Regions from separate parts of the Homo sapiens genome. Here region 1 is linked to region 2. The links are contacts of gene promoters, found by promoter capture Hi-C in blood cells and fetal thymus (Javierre and others, 2016). All regions are on one chromosome and are shown on one strand. Each heading gives the region's core, a stretch centred on a gene start or on the middle of the fragment in contact. The rest is flanking DNA. Distances are from core to core; before and after follow the strand shown.

The links. Contacts are between HindIII fragments. The CHiCAGO score rates a contact against its expected background, and 5 or more counts as called.
Region 1: the fragment with the promoter of SLC17A1 here is called in contact with the fragment with the promoter of H2AC1 in region 2 in 3 of 17 cell types (naive CD4 T cells, total CD8 T cells and M0 macrophages); the score reaches 5.3 in naive CD4 T cells.

What each region holds. Positions count from the first base shown.
Region 1 is chr6:25,830,763-25,834,513 of GRCh38, reverse strand. SLC17A1 (solute carrier family 17 member 1) reads left to right here and starts at 2,462. Exons shown (of 13, transcript NM_005074.5): 1 at 2,462-2,520. The HindIII fragment of the contact is 946 bases long and covers 2,377-3,322 here.
Region 2 is chr6:25,724,132-25,727,931 of GRCh38, reverse strand. H2AC1 (H2A clustered histone 1) reads left to right here and starts at 1,370. Exons shown (of 1, transcript NM_170745.3): 1 at 1,370-1,869. The coding sequence starts at 1,405. The coding sequence ends at 1,800. It overlaps H2BC1 (H2B clustered histone 1), which reads right to left and starts at 1,155. Exons shown (of 1, transcript NM_170610.3): 1 at 587-1,155. The coding sequence starts at 1,023. The coding sequence ends at 640. It also overlaps a transcript of SLC17A1 not described here. The HindIII fragment of the contact is 12,318 bases long and covers 1-1,694 here.

The sequences.
Region 1 (3,751 bases), core at 1,213-3,712, 110 kb before region 2:
ACCCGCCTCGGCCTCCCAAAGTGCTGGGATTACAGGCATGAGCCACCGCGCCCGGCCCATTTTATAACTTCTAATCAAATGATAGATCTAGGCAACATTTACTAACTGTAGCTAAAAGCCATAGGTGAAATGTTGGTGAAAACTTTATTAATAAGTCAGGCTAAGAATATCTGAAACTACTGATTAATCTTACTACCACTAAAAGTGAGACAACCTGCTATTATGTGCCTCCCAACACGGAGCGATAGTACCCTGTATCATCCCATATCCCTGTGAATTGTTTTTGTGCTGAATCTAACCAAGCCTCTATATAAACCTCACGGTTTGCAGGATGTAAGGAAATACAAAAATATATCAAATAATCCTAAAAGCGAGCTATTAGCCAAACCAATTAGGAGAGACACTCTGCAAGGGATCCTGTTTTATTGTTGTTGTTTTTAAGTAATGGCAAATGTAAACTGGGAGAGGGGATTATTATAAAATAAGAGACATGACAGCCGTAACAATTAAGCGCCATTATGTGGATCCTATTCAAATCCTCACTTAAATCAAGCAAATATAAAGGACACAATTTTGAAGCAATTGGGAAAATTGTCATAAAGGTTGGATATTAGGTGATGTTAAGGGATTATTGTTTATTTACTAGATGTGCTGATACCATGTTAGTTATATCTTTTAAGGTCCTAATGAATTAGATAGCCATGCTGAATGTTTTATAGAAGAAATGACATAATGTCTGAGATCTGCTTTAAAATGCTACAAAAAACAACCATTGAATGTTGTTGATAACATTCAAAAGGCCAAATGAAAACTCAAATGGCCAAATATTGATAATTATTGAAGTGGGTGAATATGTACACAGTTATCTTAAACTGATCTACTTTTTTGTATGCTTAAACATTTCCATAATAAAATGATAAATTTAAAAATTTAATACATAAAACACAGAATCCAAAAGAAACAATTTCAAAGAATCTCACAGAGCAGCAGAAAGCTTTGGGGCCAGCAAACAGAAAGATGGTTCTCCTTCAGGTAATCAGTATCCAGAACTGGGATACTGATGGCAGATGGGAGTGTTATTATTTAACACATGGACTTTGAACAACTGCTGACCTAGGGGTTTCAATCACTAAAAGGGCTCCTCTTTCAGAAAATGCCAGAAATTGCCCAGCATGAAACAGGACAGTACAAACATTCTGCAACACACAGAAGAGGACCAGCAGAATCTGGACTTTTGAAAAAGAAAAAATCTAACTGAATAACAACATCAAAGTCTCCTGGGCAAAGGGGTTAAAGATTTACAACATTTCTTTAGAGGAAAAAAATAACTGGTTGAATTTACAGAGCATCTGCTATGTGCCAAACATTTAATGAGCACTTTAAAAGCATGATAAAAATTAAAAAAAAACTTGTTAAGCATGAAATAAATTACCTATAATGCAAAATCACTGATTTTAGTGCTTGGATATTTTTAAGTAATTAGTAGATTACCTTCAAAGAGTTCTAAGTTAAAAGTATTAGGGGCCAGGCACGACGGCTCACGCCTGTCATTCCAACACTTGGGAGGCCAAGGCACAAGGATTGCTTGTGGCAGGAAGTTTGATATCAACCTGGGCAACACAGCAAGACCCTGTCTCTACCAATTAGCTGGGTACAGTGTTGCATACCTGTAATCCCAGCTACTTGGGGCTGAAGTGGAAGGATCCCTTGAGCTCAGGAGTTCAAGTCTGCACTGAGCTATAATTGCACCATAGCACTCCAGCCTGGGTGACAGTGTGAGATCCTGTCTCTCTATGTTTTTTTTTTAATGTTTCTGGATATTGCTATAACCAAGTGGATGAACCAGAACCTACAGTAATTGCAGGAAGAGCCATGAGAGAAGCCACACCTTCCAGAGGACATGCCTCAATAAAATGTACCTCTTTCTGAGTATGCTGAATGTCAAACAGATGTACTGTTTAGAGAGGAGTGTGGAGGAGACAGGGTGAGGGAAGGAGGGAAAGCAAGGAAGGAGGGAGAAGGAAGAAGGGAAAGAGAAGGAAGAAAGAAAGAAAAAAGGAAGAAAAGGAGGAAGAAAGGAAGGAAGGGAATTAAGAGTAAAAATTTAATATGGCATTTATGGGGCATTTAGAAAGCCACAACATTCCTGTGAGAACAGCATTGTATACTCAGAGCCATCCTTAATAGAGAAATCTTGAGAGCACTTATGGCAGGCAAGCTCTACCTCCTGGGCAGGGAGAGAGACTAAGGGTGTCTGCTTATTATGCCATGAAATTACTGGCAGATTCCCAGTTTCTGGTCCACTGGATGATTTTGACCCACACACCTTCCCTGAAGCTTTAAGGAAAAGGTAACAGTAAAGTTAAAAATTAAGCTTTTAACTTCGACACAGTGATGTCAAAAGATTTGGTGAATGATTTATGGGGCTAAACTTGGTAATCCTAGAAAGTCAATATTGTGTAAAGTTGAGAGAAAAGTCTTCACAGCGGAAGAAGAAATCACTTTTTTGTCCCGAATCAGGTTAGTCTACGGGGCTCATTAAATGAAATGAGCAATCAGTTGATTCCCCAGAGGGCCGTAAGGGGGCATTCCCTGGCAAAGATATTATTGAAAGTACTTAGCAATAGGGGAAAATGTGGGGAGGGGTGGAATATGCCCTATCTTCTGAGGCTTTTCACAAGAGAAAAAAGAACATATTTTTAGCAATCAGTGTGAGGTTCACAGGGACACAAGGAAAGAGAAGTATGTGTTGTACAGTGTGTGATGCTTGTATAGCTGTGGTGTGCTGTGTCTGTAATGTGTGTGGCACACTGTGTACGCCTGGTGCATCTGTGCCCATCATTTATGTGTGTGTGTGGTTATGTGTGTGGTGTTTGTAGTTTGTACTTCCGTTTTGAGGATGCAGTATTGTAACGTATTTATATGTTTGGTTTGCTATGTGTCTGGAGTGTATGTGTGGAGAACATAAGGGGAGTTTGTACCATGTGTTTATGTTGTATGTATGTATGTGGTGCATACGTATGGGTGGTTTGTGTGTGCATTTGGTGTGTATGTATATATGTATTGAAATAAACAGCAGCCCCAGAAGAGGTTCCAATGTGTGATAATGATGGTTGACAAATTGCTTATTCAAAAATATTTTGCAAATCCAATCTCAGGACTTTGGTATCTTTGGGGCACTAGGTATCATATAATCTGATATGGTAAAATCCTGAGGTCTAACCTGACCAGCACATATTGGTGCTGAATTCTGATGGTAAGGGGTTGCCTGATAGGAGACTGCTCCATTCTGATTCTCCACTGAGCTTCCTGCCATAAAGCTTTGCATCAGTGGCTGCTCTATCCACGGAAACTGAAGATACGGACAGGGGCATGTGGACGTGTAACGAATGATTAGCCTCTGCTTGAGTTGATCTTATCAATAAGCAGATAGTATCTTCCAGCTCTATTAAGATACAGGGGGAAAAAAGGAATTTGTTTTACCTTTGCTTACTCCTTTTCTGACATTCTTCCTTTCTTTTCATACTGCCGAGTTTCTGACCTATAGCAATCTCCTTCTGCCTGAAAGGCTTCTTTTAGTGTTCCTTACAGGGCAGGTCTACTGGCAATGAATTCTTTCCATTTCTCACTTTGGAGGAATATTATCACGGATTTAGAATTCTGGATTGGCAGGGTTATTTGTTTGTTCTCTGTAGTTTTCAGGTCTTCCATATATTTTTAATCAACCAAAACAATCACAAAAGTAAAATAA
Region 2 (3,800 bases), core at 121-2,620:
GATTCTCTTGCCTCAGCCTCCCAATTAGCTGGGACTACAGTGCACGCCACCACGCCCACCTGATTTTTGTATTTTTAGTAGAGACGGAGTTTCACCTTGTTGGCCAAGATGGTCTCCGTCTCTTAACCTCATGAACCGCCAGCCTCGACCTCTGCAAGTGCTGGGATTACAGGCGAGTCACGGTGCCTAGCAAGGATTGTCTTGCTGCAACTAGTTCGTCTACCCTCGGCCCACAGCTGATTTGGATATATTCGCAGTGGCTCACGCCTGTAGTCCCAGCACTTTGGGAGACCGAGGTGGGTGATCACCAGATCGAGTTTGAGACCATCCTGGCCAACATGGTGAAACCCCGTCTCTACTAAAAATACAAAAATTAGCCGGGTGTAGTGGTGGGAGCCTGTAGTCCCAGCTGCTCAGGAGGCTGAGGCAGGAGAATGGCGTGAACTCAGGAGGCAGAGCTTGCAGTGAGCCGAGATTCCGCCACTGCACTCCAGCCTGGGAGAGTGAGACTCCGCCTCAAAAAAAAAAAAAACCCTTACGGTTAGAAACTACACAAAAACGAAGCCCACAGCTGTTTCAGTATGTTTAAGTGGCTCTGAAAAGAGCCTTTGGGTTAGAAATGACGTTTACTTAGCAGGCTTACTTGGAGCTGGTGTACTTAGTGACAGCCTTGGTGCCCTCAGACACAGCATGTTTAGCCAGCTCTCCCGGCAGTAGCAAGCGCACTGCTGTCTGAATCTCTCTGGAAGAAATGGTGGAGCGCTTGCTGTAGTGAGCCAAACGTGATGCCTCGCTCGCTATACGCTCAAAGATATCAGTGACGAAGGAATTCATAATGCTCATAGCTTTCGAAGAGATGCCAGTGTCCGGATGGACCTGCTTTAGCACTTTGTAGATGTAAATAGAATAACTCTCCTTACGGGTCCTCTTGCGCTTTTTGCCTTCCTTTTTCTGGGTCTTAACGACAGCTTTCTTAAAGCCCTTCTTGGAAATGGTAGCACCTTTAGATGACACCTCCGGCATAGCTACCACACACTTCTGCAGCGTTACACGGTTCTTTTCCAGGGTTACACAGCACTTTCCAGTGCTCAACAGCTCTTCAGTATTAAACAGCTCCAAATGACCTCAGCTCCAAGTCTCGCCAAGTAAACAAACAGAACTGGAGGATGAAAGATGCGGTATTTATAGGCACGGCCCTCAAACGCCGCGTTCGGTATCCAAAATCTGATTGGACAATGGGAAGTGGCGTGAATGCAAATGAGGCGATTCTAGTACGACTTTCTGATTGGGTAGACGGCCATCAGCCAATCAGATAGCAAATGCCAACCTCAGTCAGACTATAAATAGGCCCAGTAGCAGCCCTAGAAATGTGGTTCTCGTGTTGCTGCAATTTGATGCGAGGAGATGTCTGGACGAGGGAAGCAGGGAGGAAAAGCACGCGCCAAGTCTAAGTCTCGCTCTTCTAGAGCGGGTTTGCAGTTTCCCGTAGGCCGGATCCATCGTCTGCTTCGTAAGGGAAACTATGCAGAGCGGATAGGGGCAGGCGCACCAGTGTATTTGGCGGCAGTGTTAGAGTATCTCACAGCAGAAATCCTTGAGCTGGCAGGCAATGCGTCTCGCGATAACAAAAAAACTCGCATTATTCCCCGCCACCTGCAGCTAGCGATCCGCAATGATGAGGAACTCAATAAGCTTTTGGGCGGCGTGACCATTGCCCAGGGCGGAGTCCTGCCTAACATTCAGGCAGTGCTGCTGCCCAAGAAGACTGAGAGTCACCACCATAAAGCCCAAAGCAAGTAACTTAAGGTTGTCATTGGTAAAAAGACTTCTGTGTCAGAAAAAACAAAAGGCTCTTTTCAGAGCCACCTACCGTCTCAGAAAAAGGCTGTACGTTACAAAACGTTACTGCTGTTAACCAGCCATCTTACTTGCCTGTCACAAATGCCCGTTTAAGCGCATTTCGGGAATGTACGGGGACTGAATTTTCAAGGAGCGTTCCATCGGCCATTAGTTTGAGGTAATTTTGGTTATATATGTCACTGGGCGAGGTGGCTTAACGCTTGTGAGCAGTCAGTACTTGCACTTCAGTGGAGGTTGGAGCGGGAGGGTCGTTCAAGCCTGGGGCTTGACCGTTAACATAATTGAGACCCTGTCCCCACAGAAACTAGCTGGGTCTGGTGATGCAGGCCTGTAGTCCCAGCTGTTCGGGAGGCTGCGGTGGGAGGGTTGTTCATGAGTCCGGGAGGCGAAAGTTACAGTGAACGAAGATTGATTGCTCCACTGCACTCCAGTCTGGGTGACATGAGCGAGACTATCTCAAACTAGATTTATGTATGTTAGTTATGTTAAGGGTTACACATGGAAGTGAAAATTGCATTACAAGCAGGAGAGGTGTAATCTTCCTGTTTAAATCCAGGTAACATCAGTCTGGCTGGTTAAAGTACATTTTAGAGAATTTCCTTTCAAATATGGTAGTTTCACGAAATACTCATAATTAAATGTGGCATGTAAGTAAGTTAATCTTAAAATTTGGGTAAGCATATATATTTGATACCTGTGGTTTCACGTACTTTGTAAAGAATAATAGAATTATTTCTTAAAATGTAAGTAAAATATGTCAAAAAGAAGCCTTACGCCATATGTGATGGTGAGATACTAGTGTTAGACTCAGGCAGGAATGGGACTAGAAGGCCGAACATAATTTGAAGTTTAGAAATTTGGAAGAGTATATGCTTCAAAAGTTTTGACTGTTGAAAAGAGGCAAAATAGTTTGTTGATCTGTGTTTGCAGTTTGTGCTGTAAACACCAAGAGAAAGTGAAAAGCAAAACCCATTCAGTAACGCTGCCAAATAACTAAATTAAAAATTATTGTACGATATTCAACAGTTGACCTTACCTCAAAAAAAAAAAAAATCATTTGGTTACCAAAAAAAAAACTGCTAAACACTTGATGTCTACACATAATAAGGCATGTATAGAAGCAGGTAAAGTTCTATAAAATAAAACATGCCGAGTAAGGACAATCAAGTTACAAAAGTATGAATTAACCTGCATACATAATAAATAAGGGATGCAGTTAGGGACGGCAAAAATTGAAGATATTTGAAAACAGAAATGGCAACTATATGTTGAATAAAACTGGGTAATATTTAGAACATGGCAAATGTAAAACTTAAAATCAGGATATAAGACAAACCTAAACAGATGAATTCCAAGTAATTAATGTAGATACTTTGTCAAGAAAGTGGCACTTAACTTCTCAGACTTGCCAAGGCAGAGGAGGAGGGACTTGACTTTATAGAAGAGAACCTGTGTATTCTTTTATTCCAAATGCACTACATAATACTTTTATTTCTATCTCTAATGCAATCCTATTAAAATTGCATTAAACTAAATGTTTAGATAGAATAAAATATATTAAAAAATTGTGAATACATGTTACAGGAGACATGCCCCCTTGATTTTTCAAAACAATTTACCTACAGAAGTTTCTGATTCTTCTTTTTTTGGAGCCAGAGTCTCGCTCTGTCACCCAGGCTGGAGTGCAGTGGCGTGATCTCGGCTCATTACAACCTCCAGCTCCCAGGTTCAAGTGATTCTCCTACCTCAGCCTCCTGAGTAGCTGGGATTACGGGCGCCTGCCCCACGCCCAGCTAACTTTTGTATTGTTAGTAGAGACAGGGTTTCGCCATGTTGGCCAGGCTGGTCTCCAACTCCTGACCTCAGGTGATCCGCCAGCCTCAGCCTCCCAAAGTGCTGGGATTACAAGTGTTAGCCACCGCACCCAGCCTTGATTTCTT